Regions from separate parts of the Homo sapiens genome. Here region 2 is linked to region 1. Evidence: promoter capture Hi-C in 16 types of primary human blood cells and fetal thymus (Javierre and others, 2016). All regions are on one chromosome and are shown on one strand. The core of a region is centred on a gene start or on the middle of the fragment in contact, and the rest is flanking DNA. Distances in the headings are between cores, read along the strand shown. Region 1 holds the start of FUCA1 (alpha-L-fucosidase 1). Region 2 overlaps ELOA (elongin A).

Region 1 (6,891 bases), core at 2,595-5,094:
TTAATAAAGCTTGCTTTGGGTTAAGAATGGTGAGTGTTACAAAAACCTTATAATGCAAGAAGCAATTACACAGATAAAAAACAACTGAAGTATTTCATCATATGACCCAGGGACTAAATAAAGATGGTAAAAATCATGACTCCTGAAGTCCATATCTAATCAATATCTCAGAGTTTTACAGCAGGACTTTAAGCAAAGCACAGTGCTGAGAAACAAACTGAGCAGGTGACAGGAGTCAGCAAACTCTTTTTGTCTTTTTTCTTTTTTTTTTTTTTTTGAGACGGAGTCTCGCTCTGCCACCCACGCTGGAGTGCAGTGGTGCGATCTTGGCTCACTGCAACCTCCGCCTCCTGGGTTCAAGTGATTCTCCTACCTCAGCCTCCCGAGTTGCTGGGACTACAGGCAAACGCCACCACGCCCGGCTAATTTTGGTATTTTTAGTAGAGACAGGGTTTCACCATATTGGTCAGGTTGGTCTTGAACTCCTGACCTCATGATCTGCTTGCCTCTGCCTCCCAAAGTCCTGGGATTACAAGTGTGAGTCAACGCACCCGACCAGTGAACTCTTAAAGATCCAGACAGTGTTTTAGGTTTTGCAGGCCATTTGGTCTCTATCTCAGCTCTCAAATTGTAGCTTGAAAGCAGTCACAGACAGTGCATAAATGAATAGGCATGGCTGTGTTCCAATCAAACTTTATGATTTATACAGACACTCAGCCTACTCCTCAAACAGGACATCAAGTAGCATCGTAGTCTATGTTGGGTATCCTTCATCTAACCAGACATGGCCATGAACTTCTGTAACGGTGTCCCCTTTGGTCACGTGAAAACTGTGAAGCATCAAACACTGCCAATTCAAAGGCCAGAAGCCCTTCCGGCTACTTGCTATATGCAAACCTAGAAAACACACAGGAGTAGAAGGCCAAAAGCCCTTCAGGCTACTTGCTATATGCAAACCTAGAAAACACACGCAAGTAGAGGAGGTACAGAACTCTTGACAGCCAGATCCAAAGAGATAACAGAGTAACCATCCCTGGACACTCACCTCTTCCGGAGAGCTGTTCCCAATTCACCAACCAAATCCCGATGAGGCCCCACGTCTTTGGAGTTCCAGTTCCAAGACACAGGACTCGGCCAGTTTGTGAAGCCTTCGTGATGCTTTGTCGTCAAAACTACATACCTGTGGACAGCAAAACCACATGAGCAAAGGAAGTGGGCAGTGAACTTGCATGAACTTGCCCAGCATGCCTGAGGCTTTTTAAATAGCTGAAAGAACTTGACCACAACAAATGTACTTGTACCAGTGACTATATTAGTGATATCCAGGAAGCTGCTGCAGTCACAATTCCCCTTGGGCATTGCTCCAAGAATGGAAGCAGATTTGAGGAAGTCCCAACCCTCAGTCCCCAGCAAAGGAGGAGGCCCAGAGGGAAGGAAGGAGTGGGTAAGGGAAAAGAAGTGCACCTTAGCTCTCTGATTCTTCAACACTTCTGGTAGGAACGATTAACTTTCTTTCATTCTTTGCCCTGAAGGAGAAAGAGCTCTACTGGAAATGGCAGATAATAGAAAACTAAGCCATTTGCTGGCCAGGCATGGTGGCTCACACCTGTAATCCCAGCACTTTGGGAGGCCAAGGTGGGCGGATTACCTGAGGTCAGGGGTTCAAGACCAACCTGGCCAATGAGGCGAAAACCCATCTCAACTAAAAATACAAAAATTAGCCGGGCATGGTGGTGTGTGCCTGTAGTCCCAGGTATTTGAGAGGCTGGGGCATAAGAATCACTTGAGCCTGGGAGACAGAGGTTGCAGTGAGCCGAGATCATGCAACTGTACTCCAGCCTGGGCTACAGAGCAAAACTGTTTCAAAACAACAATAACAACAAAATAGAAAACTTTCTAGAAAACTAAGCTGTTTGGTTTACCAAGCCTACATAAATTGCCTCTCATTTATTATAGAGGTGACAAAAGACCCAATAACTGGGAGAAAAGGCAAGTGTTGAAATAACAACCAAATCACTCAATATTTAATTTGCTTTTATGGCACAAAAATAGGTAATGCACTTTATGGTTCAATCATTGGCCAGAGTAGGGAACTCCAGGATTTGAAGGGCCAGATAGTATTTTAGGCTCTGTGGGAGCACATTCCTCTCTGTAGTGTATTCTTCTTTAAAACATTTTACAACCCTTTAAAAATGTAAAAACCATTCTCACCTCATGGGCCTTAAAAAACTGGCAGAGGACCAATCCCTCTGGCCAGTTTGCAGACCCTGGTGCAGTGGAAACAACCTTGACGTCATGAGACCTGGAGTCTAGGACATTATATTCCTTCCTCTCTTTGGGCCAGTCATCTCATCCATGAAATAAAAGGCATGGAAAGAGGTTATCTCCCAGATTTTAATTTTTCTCACTTGTAAGTTATGGATCCCTAAGGCCCCTAGGAGACAAACACTTCCTCTGCTTAATCAAGTCTTATACTCCCATACATTTAATGGCAAACACTAAATGCCAGTTGTAACTTCTCTTTAGTACAAGTGAATTCAAAGTTCAAGAGAAACGAAAACCCGGAAGATGGCTGAGGAACCAAGGTAAGGATGGAAGACTGCTCTAAGCCAGGGGCTGGGGAAACCTCCCCGCCTCCATTTTTACTCTTCTCCAACCCACTTCTCTCCCAGCAGCCGAATGAATCTTTCTAGAAGCTGATAGTAACCACTCCCTGACTTAACATCTGTCAATACAGGGCTCTCAAGGCTCACTCCTTCAGGACAAGCCCCTGCCTTGACAACTTCATGGGTCGTGGTCTCCCCTTATCCCCACCCCAGCGCTCTCTACTCTGTTCTCTGAACCAGCCACCCCCAAGTTCCAACAGTTCTCAGAGAGAGTCAGACCCTTCCTGGACACTTCCTACGTAAAAGGGATTGAGAGGAGCAAACGAATGACTATCTGTACTGTTGCCCAAATACACTGCACACCAGAACTCCCCTCTCTTTCCCTCTTAGAGACATTAGGGCTCAAAGGGTTGTATCCTTATATAACCCCTTTCTACAACCATAGAAGAGGCTGCAGGGAGGCTGAAGTGACATGTCCAGGTTCACAGTTGAATTAGAACCAGGCTCCACACCACTGATTTGAAACCCTGGAGTCCTGATAGTGCTGTCAATCTGAAAGGGACATCAGGTATGGCCTAACTCAGCCCTCTCGGTGCACAGGTGCAGATACCCAGGGCTTCCCAGCCTGCCATCTCCCTGAACCTTCATTTATCAGTCCCCAGTCAAACGCACCTCCTCCTCCTCATCAGGTGTGCCAGGCTCACTCCTGTGGCCGCAGGAGGCCACACGCGGGCCCCGGGGTCATGGGGGCGACCGGCAGCTGCGCGCCCCAGCTGGCCGCCCAGCCCCACCTCCTGTTTGCCGCCCGAGCCGGGAAGGGGCGCCGCTCCCCGGGACCACACTCACTTGGCGCCCGCGGCCTGGAAGAGGTCGGCCCACTCCTCCGGGTGGAAGAAGCGCGCAGTGAACTGCGGTCCGAAGTCGGCGTAGCTGAAGCCGGGCGGGTAGTTGTCGCGCATGAAGCGCTGGTACTGCGGCCGCCCCTCGCCCTGCCAGTGCCACCAGAACCACTCGCTGCCCCAGGCGGGCACCGAGAACACGCCCCAGTGGATGAACACCCCGAACTTGGCTTCGTCGAACCAGGCCGGCAGCGGCCGAGAATCCAGGCTCGGCCAGTCTGGGGTGTAGCGGCGCGGAGGCTGGGCCCGACGCACCGACTCGGCCGCTCCGAGGAAGAGCAGCAGCAGCAACAGCGCGGGACCCGCCGGCCGCGACCTCATCCCCGGAGCCCGCATCGCTACCCCTCAGCGACGCGGCCCACTCTTAACGCGCAGGTGCCCGCGGGCGGCTCCGCCCACTCTGACTAACGATTGGCCCGGAAGGAAAAAGGGGTGGGACAACCTGGACAGGTTGGCCCGAGTCGCTTCCTCCTCGGGTCGGAGGAGCGCCCTCTGGTGCTCAAGAAGGGAAAGACGCAGGGAGGCGTTGACAGCGCTTCGCTGAAGGACGAATAAAAACCTTGAAAAGGGACTTAACTGCGAGGTTAAATCGTGGAGGTGAGCAAGGCCCAGTGTGTGCGGAGAACTCACATTTAAGAAGGAGTCCATTGAGCCGGACGCAGTGGCTCACGCCTGTAATCCTAACACTTTCGGAAGTCGAGGCGGGAGGATCGCTCTGAGCCCACAAGTTGGAGACTAGCCTGTCTCTATAAAAAATAAACAAAATGAGCCTGGCGTAGTGGTGCACGTCTGGAGTCCCAGCTACTCGAGAGGCTGAGGTGGGAGGTTCGGGATCGCTTGAGCCCGGGAAGTCTGGGCTGCAGTGAACCGAACCGTGATCACGCCTCTGGGAGTAGTCCATTTTGCCGCAGCAATCCTGCAGGGGTAGGCTGAAGTGAGATCACGAGTTTTATTTAGTGATCACTTGGGAGCCATAGGGGGCTTTTGAGTTGTCCTGTAGCACAAGGCTGGAGGAGGAGATAACAGACCGGAAGGGTATCTAACAGCCCTGACAGAAATAAGGAGGTAGAGGGATGATGGGAAGAAACGTTATGAAAGGAGAGGAAAGAGAAAACTGGGTACTGAAAGAGGGAGAGCGGGCAGGACCGTTTCATCTGTCTGGTATTTACTGAGCTTTCTTTGGGAATTCCGAGGCATTTCAAATAGCTTAGTTTGTACCGAGATACCGCCACTGCACTCCAGCCCCTGGGCGACAGAGCCAGACCAAGGAAGAAAGAAAGGAAGGAAGGAAGGAAGGAAGGAGGAAGGAAGGAAGGAAGGAGGAAGTGGAGAGCCAAGAGGACCCAGGATTGCCTGGCAGGGAAGTTCCCCAGTTCCTCTGCAATTTGCACATGCTGCACATACTCAAACGGGAGGTGAGGCCATTAGCGAGGGAAATACGGAAGTCAGAAGTCTCTGAACAGACAAGGTGGCTCACGCCTGTAATCCCAGCACTTTGGGAGGCCGAGGTGGGCAGATCACCTGAGGTCGGGAGTTTGAGACCAGCCTGGCCAACATGGTGAAACCCCATCTCTACTAAAAATACAAAAATTAGCCGGGCATGGGGTGCGCCTGTAATCCCAGCTACTCAGGAGGCTGAGGCAGGAGAATTGCTTGAACTCGGGAGGTGGAGGTTACAGTGAGCCGAGATCGCACCACTGCACTCCAGCCTGGGCGACAGAGTGAGACTCGGTCTCAAAAAAAAAAAAAAAAAAAAAGAAAAAGAAAAGGAAGAAGAAGTCTCATGACTCCACGTAGCACACTCAGTTCCCACATGCCAGTGAGAGAATGGCAGCACATCAGAGTTGGGACTTTGAAGATCCTAGGCACCATCCTCTTCCCTACCCTTCCCATTGTACCGAGGAGGGAACTGAAGCCCAGAGAGGGCTGGGGGGCTGCCCAAGATCATGCAGCTAGTTTGAGTCAGAGGTGGGACTAGAATACGTGTCTCCAGGTGCAAAATCTATGCCTTTGTTCATGCTGCTTCTTTCTTGCACCTCATGAGAAGTCAGAGCCTATGTTGACAGAACCCAGCACTTCCTCACTCTGGCAGTGACAAGGAGAGAAAATGACTATTGCTGAATCACAGCTGTTTTCTTTTCTTTTCTTTTCTTTTTTCTTTTCTTTTCTTTTGAGATGCAGTCTTGCTCTGTCGCCCAGGCTGGAATGCAGTGCTGCAATCTCAGCTCACTGCAACCTCCACCTCCTGGGTTCAAGCCATTCTCCTGCCTCAGCCTCCCGAGTAGCTGGGTTTACAGGTACGCCACCACGCCTGGCTAATTTTTGTATTTTTAATACAGATGGGGTTTCGCCGTGTTGGCCAGGCTGGTCTCGAACTCCTGACCTCAAGTGATCCGCCAGCCTCAGCCTTCCAAAGTGCTGGGATTACAGGCATGAGCCACTGCACCCGGCCTACAGCTATTTTCTTTATCTTCTGTTTCTTTTTCTGCCAGATTATGTTGAAATATTGCCCAAAACAGTAAGCATGAACACCTTAGGAAAAAAACCGAACCCATCCACACACATTTTCTAGTAATCGGTTTGCATAGTGGTCTTTAATGTTACAGAGCTTGTCTTGGGGAAGATAAAATGGGACATTGTGATCTTCAATTTATTTCTCCTTATCCACATAACCAAAATGTGAACCTGCAGGGACAGGTGAGAGGCACTGATGTAGAGTGGACAGAACTGGAAGTTAGGAAACCTAGGTTTGTTGCACTGGACACCATCTCGTTTGTCTCCCTGAGCAAGTCTTGTCCACTGTCTGGGCCCATTTCCTCAACCAAACAACAAGGGCAGTTCTCAGTGATATCTAGGTCCCTTTTGCACCCTTGTTCTCCTCCCTCATAAGCTCTGCTTCTCCACTTAAAGCAGACATAGGGGCTGGGAGTGGTGGCTCACACCTGTAATCCTAGCACTTTGGGAGGCTAAGGTGGGTGGATCACTTGAAGTCAGGAGTTCAAGACCAGCCTGGCCAATATGGTGAAATTCCATCTCTACTAACAATACAAAAATTAGCTGGGCATGGTGGCGGGTACCTGTAATCCCAGCTACATGGGAGGCTAAGGCAGGAGAACTGCTTGAACCCAGGAGGCAGAGGTTGCAGTGAGCCAAGATTGCATGCCACTGCACTCCAACCTGGGTGACAGAGTGAGATTCTATGTCAAAAAAAAAAAAAAAAAAAAAAAAAGCAGAAATACAGTGTGGTTCTAAAAGAAGAGAAGTAGAAAGTGTGGAGTTGCGTTTGATCAAATGATTTTTAGAATCTAGTTTTATTCATTCAAGAAGTATTTACTCAGTGCTTGTTTGTGCCAGGCACTTGGGCATTTTCTTTGCCAAAATGAGAA
Region 2 (7,279 bases), core at 1,298-3,797, 110 kb before region 1:
CTGTGCAGGTGCATCTCTTTCTTACTAACTGGTATTTATTAAGGGAGGTGCTCTGTAGGTCTGGAGCCTTTCCCTCATCCTTTTTGCGAGTCCCCACCTTTTTGTTTTTTTTTTTTTCTTTGAGGCTCACTAGAGGACGCAGAACCTTGGGAGATTGATTTGCACAGAACTCCCCACCTCCCACTTTTACAATTTCCAGTTTCTGATTGAAAATTTTAGGGTTTCTCCCCACTGCCCTTCCCTATCTTTCCTTCCCCTCAACACCATGAAGGAAAAACACACACGGCAGGGCTTTTTGTAGCCCTGAAGGCAACTTTAGACATTTAAAATCCAGCACTTTAATCTCTTGTTCTCTGTGAATCACTATGAGAAGTGAATGGTTTTAAAGGCTGTAATGCTATGTTGGAAATTGGTTTGTTTTGCCTTTTATTGAAAAGGTAAGATCATGTGATTGGAAGAACACAACTGTTGGCTTGGGAAGAGGACTTTGCTGCTGAAGTGTTTTCTACCTTCTGAGTGTGTTTAAGGCAGGATTTGGAGGGAAGGACCAGCTTAGGGAGAGTGTCTGAGCCACAGCGTCAGGATGGGGGAAACCACATGGGATCCATCAAGTTCCAGTTGAACAGGAGCAAGATCAGAACTTAGGAGGGCAGTGTCAGCTCCCTTGTTGGCTGTCAAGGAACACCGATCTAGTAGAAACCCACTTGGTTGTGACCCAGGTAGAGGTAGATGCCATACATTTGAGATATGCGTCCTTAAGGAACCTGACAAGCAGACTGAAGGGATGGTAAGTGTGACAGCCTGATAAGTTTTCTCAAAGCCCAGGATACAGAGCCAGTGTTTTCTGTAACTGGAGACCTCAGTTAGGCCAACTTCGAATTCCAGAGCAACGTAGGAAGTCTATTCAGCAGAAACTCGACATTGTTCAGTGTGTATTGCTGTGCAGGGTGCCTATTGTGACAGGACACAAATGTTACTATGTTTTAATTTGCTATATTTTTGAATGGGTAAAGCATTACTTTACTTCTCTTGGTTACTTGTACCACCATTCCACCCCTATCCCTAGCCTGCCCCACAAATCTAATATTAGGAAGCCTCTTAACTGAAACCAAATGAACATTTGGGTCAGGTGCCAGATGTCTGCTGCCTAGAATAGCTTTTTCTAGGTGTCTACCACCTTGAATTTATCTCTTAACTGTGTGTTCAAGTCTTTGTCATTGAAACTAGTTTTTCATATCTTAGATTCAGTTGTGTATGATTTAATGTCCCTTATTAGGAGTCTTTAGGCAGGGAGGGAAGAAAAAACAGATTTGTTCATAGCAATGTCAGTATCCATTTTGGCACATAAAGATTTTTGATGAGCCCTGTTTGCATAGAGCCAGATGTTTTCCCCTCCCCCAAGAGTATCTACATCAGGGATGTGACTTGGTGCGAAGAGTCAGGGGAAAGAGGAAAAACCCAATTTCTAAATGACCTCCTTGCCCAGCTTACTAAAATGGCTGCAGAGCAGACACAGGATGAATTTGAACCTGACACAGGATGAATTTGAACCTTTGGTCTCATTTATGGAAAAACTTGTGCAATTTTTTTTCTGTGCTACACTACATACAAATCACCAAATTACAAATTACCCTTTTGTGATCCTTGGTGTACTGAGCAGTTTCTTTGGGGCTTTTTCTTTCTGGGAAGCGGGAGGGAAAGGAGCAAGGTGTCATCCTGCTCTTCATTTGTATTTTGGTCCCAAAATGTAAATACAATTTTCTATGTTACTTTTTTGTGGTAACTACCGAGATGAATATTTTAATTAGATAAGTTATATGAAAAGGAAAATTCCATGTCTAAATAAAAAACAAACTCCATATACTGTGTCTTCCTTACTTATAGCATCAGTGGAAAGAAGTTAGAAAATGCCTGATTCTTGGACTGTTTAAGGCAGAGTTTTTTTTTTTGTTTTTTTTTTTGAGATGGAGGAGGCAATCTCAGCTCACCGCACCCTCCTAAGGCAGAGATCTTAATCAGCATCCTTGGGCTGGGCCTTAAACGATGCCGAATTTAGTAGTAAGAGGAATTTCAGACGGAAAGAATTCTGTGAGCAAAGGGCGGGAACTCAGCATTTGTGGGGAACAGGCACTGTCCCTTATTATACTTGGAACCCTGGTAACCCCATCTTAAAATTAGAAACTGGTTCAAAGGGGTGAAATGGGGCCGGGCATGGTGGTTCATATCTGTAATCCCAACACTGAAGGGCGGAGGCAGGATTGCTTGAGCCCAAGAGTTCAAGACCAGCCTGAGCAACATATTGAGACCCTGTCTCTAGAAAAAGATTAAAAATTAGCCAGGTGTGATGGTGCACCTATAGTCCCAGCTATGTGAAAGGCTGAGGTGGGAGGATCACTTGAGCTTGGGAGGTCGAGGCTACAGTGAGCTGTGATTATGCTACTGCACTCCAGTCTAGGTGACAGAGCAAGACCAGCCTGGGCAACATGGCAAAACCCCATCTCTTTTTTTGTCTCAAAAAAAAAACAGGGGTAGGGGGTTAGGAGGGACTGTGGCTCATGCCTGTAATCCCAACACTTTGGGAGGCCAAGGAGGGTGGATTGCTGGAGTTCAAGAGTTTGAGACCAGCCTTGGCAACATGGCAAAACTCTATCTCTACAAAAGATACAAAACTAGCTGGGTGTGGTGGCACACACCTTTGGTCCCAGCCACTCGGGAGGTAGAGGTGGGAGGATGGCTTGAGCCCAGGAGGTTGAGGCTGCAATAAGCCATGATTGCCACTGCAGTCCAGCATGGGCGACAGAGCAAGACCCTGTCTCCAAAAAAATAAAAAACAAACGGGGAGGGGGGGGAAAGGAGTGAAATTAACATGGCCAAGTTGCGTAGCTAATAAAGTGGCAAAAGGAAGGATTTGACACCGTGATTCTCTAACTGCAAGGTTTGTGCCACTCTGCCTTTCAGTTTCCACGGGCTGTGAGGGACCAGTAGGTCTCAGCTTACACGGGCGTTCTAATGAGTACAGAAGGAACATGAATGCAGGAAAGTCGTGCCAGCAAAGACTTAATGAGAACCTGCTGTGGTGGCTCTGGCTGACCTGCAGGAGCTTTAGCACTTGCTAATGGAGCCATGGATTTGGCTTCAACCCTGCATACAGCAAGTGGATTGGACCTTCCATCAAACATACAAATCTGTCCTTTATCGATTAATTAAACATTTGCTGAGCCAGGACCTGTATTAGACCTTAGGATATGGAGTAATAGACTCTGACACTTAACAGTTAGGGAGGAGTAACTGACTTTATTGATTATGCACCTACTAGGTGCCACCATTCCTTCTTCTGTACACTGCCTCTGTTATCACAATGATCCTGTGAGGTAAACAGTCATGGCCCCATTTTAAAAATGACAACTTAATCCTGGTAAATCCAGGGGATTAAAAAATAAAAATGAGAACTTAAGTCACCATAGTGTCTGTAGAAATAAATTTTAAAAAATTGTTTTAATGAAAATGAGAAAAACCGAAGCACAGAGAGATGAAGAACTTGCCTAAGTTCACAGAATCAGTGAGCAGTGGTGCTATGTATTGGCCTGACTCCAAAACACATGCTCTCAGTCACATTTACCATCTCATACACTGACATGCATACCCAATTTGGCCTCTGAAGCAAAGCTGACCTCCAAAACAAAAGATGCCTGAGCCAAGGCCAGAGTCGTTTCTGTTTTTTTTTTTTAAATTCTTTTTTTGTGATGGAGTCTCGCTCTGTTGCCCAGGCTGGTGTGCAGTTGCACGATCTCGGCTCACTGCAGCCTCAGCCTCGCGAGTAGCTGGGATTACAGACATGTGCCACCACGCCCAGCTAATTTTTATATTTTTAGTAGAGACAGGGTTTCACCACGTTGGCCAGGCTGGTCTGCAACTCCCAACCTCAAGCCATCTGCCCGCTTTGGCCTCCCAAAGTGCTGGGATTACAGGTGTGAGCCACCGTGCCCAGCCTAAAAATTCTTTATCCTCAAGTTCAACAGTCATTTCTAAGAATGATATCTTTTGTCTGCTTCATGTAACTGATGCCCAGCAGAATCCTACCTGGCTTATCAACTTGACAGATGCCCCCATCACAGGGTTTCTCATCCACTTTCATCTCTTCCTGGTTATTTGCTAAATGGTGAAACAGTTTGTCTTCAGAGGCCCCTGAACTTCTTTCTCTCACTCTTTTTGAGACAGTCTCACTCTGTCACCCAGGCTGGAGTGCAGCGGTGGGATCTTGGCTCACTGCAGCGTCAACCTCCCAGGCTCAAGTATTCCTCCCACCTCAGCCTCCCAAGTAGCTGTGACTACAGATGTGCACCACCACTCCCAGATAATTTTTTGGTATTTTTTTGGGAGATGGAGTTTTGCCGTGTTGCCCAGGCTGGTCTTGAACTCTTGAGCTTAATCACTCTACCTTGGCCTCCAAAGTGCAGGGATTACAGGCATGAGGCACCTCGCCCGGCCCCCTGAACTTCTCTATGATGTCTATTGTCTCAACTCTTTTCAAAGACTAAGGAAAGTTCCAGCCATCAAAATTTTATATCACTGTATCTGTTTCTCAAGCACAGAGTCTTGGGTTGGGGCCTCAGAATATGCATTTAAAAAGATGCAACTCAAGTGTTATGGACTAAATGTTTGTGTCCCCCCAAAATGCCTATGCTGAAATCCTAAGACCCAGTGTGACAGTATTAGATAGGCCTTTGGAGGTAATTAGGTCACGTGGGTAGAGGCTTCATGAATAGGATTCTCCCTCATAAGAGAAATGAGAGTTGCTCTTGCTCCTTGTTCTCCACCATGTGAGGAAATGAGAGGACGGCAGTCTGCAAACCAAGAAGAGGGCCCTCACCAGACACAGAATTGGCCAGCGCCTTGATCTTGGACTTCCAGCCTCTGGAACTGTGAGAAGTAAATGTTTGTTGCCTAAGCCAGTCAGTCTATGGTAAGTTGTTACAGTAGCCTGAAATGACTGAGACACTAAGCGATTTTTTTTTTTTTTTTTTTTTTTTTTTTTTTTTTTTTTTTTTTTTTGAGGTGAAGTCTCACTCTGTCACCCAGGCTGGAATGCAGTAGCTTGATCACTCTCGGCTCACTGCAACCTCTGCCTCCCGGGTTCATGTGATTCTCCTGCTTCAGCCTCCCTAGTAGCTGGGACTACAGGCGTGCACCACCAACTTTTGTATTTTTAGTAGAGATGGGTTTCACCATGTTGGCTAGGCTGGTCTTGAACTCCTGACCTCAGGTGAGATCAGGTGAGATCCACCTGCCTCGACCTCCCAAAGTGCTGGGATTACAGGCATGAGCCATTGTGCCTGGCCTGACACTAAGCATTTTTTTTTTGGGGGGATGGAGTCTTGCTCTGTTCCCCAGACTGGAGTGCAGTGGCGTGATCTCAGCTCACTGCAACCTCCGCCTCCCAGGCTCAAGCGATTCTCCTGCCTCAGTCTCCCAAGTAGCTGGGATTATAGGCATGCATCACTACAACCCGGCTAATTTTTGTATTTTTAGTAGAGACGGGGTTTCACCATGTTGGCCAGGCTAGTCTTGAACTCCTGACCTCAAATGATCCACCCGCCTCTGCCTCCCAAAGTGCTGGGATTACAGTCATGAGCCACCACGCCCGGCCGACACTAAGCAATTCTTAAAATGTACACTGAAGTTTGAGAACTGCTCCAGAGAATTTGCCACAGTGGAATAGCTCTTCACAGCAGGTCCCTAGGTCAGGACTAGGAAGCTTGTTGATTTAGTAGTAAGCAAATACTTGCATTGCTTCCCACTCTGTGTCACTGACTAAGTCAGACATGGCAGGCTGGGGACAGTGGCTCACAGCTGTAATCCCAGCACTTTGGGGGGCCAAGGTGAGAGATTACTTGAGTCCAGGAGGTTGAAACTAGCCTGGGCAACATAGTGAGATCTTGTCTCTAAAAAAATAAAATATTAGGCCAGGCGCGGTGGCTCATGCCTGTAATCCCAGCACTTTGGGAGGCTGAGGCGGGCAGATCACCTGAGGTCAGGAGATCAAGACCAGCCTGACCAACATGGAGAAACCCCATCTCTACTAAAAATACAAAATTAGCCGGGTGTGGTGGCACATGCCTATAATCCCAGCTACTCGGGAGGCTGAAGCAGGAGAATACCTTGAACCTGGGAGGTGGAGGTTGAAGTGAGCCAAGATCATGCCATTCAAAATAAAATAAAAATAAAACAAAATAAAATAAAATATTAGTTGGGCATGGTGGCATGAACCTGTAGTTCTAGCTACTCAGGAGGCTGAGGTGGGAGGATTGCTTGAACTCGGGGAGGTTGAGGCTGCAGTGAGCCAAGATCATCCCACTGCGCACCAGCCCGGGTGAAAGAGCAAGACCCTGTCTCAAAAAAGAAAAAAGAAAAAAAAAAAAAAGGCCAGGCATGGTGGCTCATGCCTGTAATCCCAGCACTTTGGGAGGTCAAGGCAGATGAATCACCTGAGGCCAGGAGTTCGAGACCAGCCTGACCCACATGGAGAAACTCCGTCTTTACTAAAAATACAAAATTAGCTGGGCGTGGTGGTGCATGCCTGTAATCCCAGCTACTTGGGAGGCTGAGGCAGGAGAATCGCTTGAACCCAGGAGGTGGAGGTTGCGGTGAGCCGAAATTGTGCCACTGCACTCCAGTCTGGACAAGAGCAAAACTCCGTCTCAAAAAAAAAAAAAAAAAAAAAAGAGACATGGCCCTTGCCCTCATGAAGCTTTCATCTAGTAGGGAGACAGTTATCAAATAACTGCACAAATAATTCTTTTTTTTTTTTTTTTTTTTGAGACAAAGTCTTGCTCTATTGGCAGGCTGGAGTGCAGTGGCGCGATCTTGGCTCACTGCAACCTCCGCTTCCCGGATTCAAGCAATTCTCCTGCCTCAGGCTCCCGAGAAGCTGGGACTACGAGTGTGCGCCACCATGCCCAGCTAATTTCTGTATTTTTGGTAGACACGGGGTTTTACCATGTTGGCCAGGATGGTCTCGATCTCTTGACCTCGTGATCTGCCCGCCTCGGCCTCCCAAAGTGCTGGGATTACAGGCGTGAGCCACCGCGCCTGGCTTTTTTTTTTTTTTTTTTTTTTTTTTTTGAGACGGAGTCTCACTCTGTCACCAGGGCTGGAGTGCAGTGGCGCGATCTCCGCTCACTGCAAGCTCCACCTCCCGGTTCACGCCATTCTCCTGCCTCAGCCTCCCGAGTAGTTGGGACTACAGGCTCTCGCCACCACGCTCGGCTAATTTTTTGTA

What was found. The method cuts DNA at HindIII sites, captures the fragments that hold promoters and counts their contacts. A CHiCAGO score of 5 or more calls a contact.
Region 2: a contact is called between a fragment that was not itself captured here and the fragment with the promoter of FUCA1 in region 1, in 1 of 17 cell types (neutrophils). The highest score is 5.4, in neutrophils.

What each region holds. Positions count from the first base shown.
Region 1 is chr1:23,864,446-23,871,336 of GRCh38, forward strand. FUCA1 (alpha-L-fucosidase 1) reads right to left here and starts at 3,845. Exons shown (of 8, transcript NM_000147.5): 1 at 3,453-3,845; 2 at 1,046-1,180. The coding sequence starts at 3,841. CNR2 (cannabinoid receptor 2) reads right to left here. Exons shown (of 2, transcript NM_001841.3): 2 at 6,070-6,891. RefSeq lists an enhancer at 807-2,006 and a silencer at 3,257-3,476. The HindIII fragment of the contact is 15,238 bases long and covers 8-6,891 here.
Region 2 is chr1:23,760,201-23,767,479 of GRCh38, forward strand. It overlaps ELOA (elongin A), which reads left to right. Exons shown (of 11, transcript NM_003198.3): 11 at 1-1,859. It overlaps ELOA-AS1 (ELOA antisense RNA 1), which reads right to left. Exons shown (of 4, transcript NR_038280.1): 4 at 182-951. Among named protein-coding and RNA genes, the nearest start is that of ELOA-AS1, 14 kb to the right of the region's middle. RefSeq lists a silencer at 5,599-5,893. The HindIII fragment of the contact is 6,411 bases long and covers 1-5,753 here.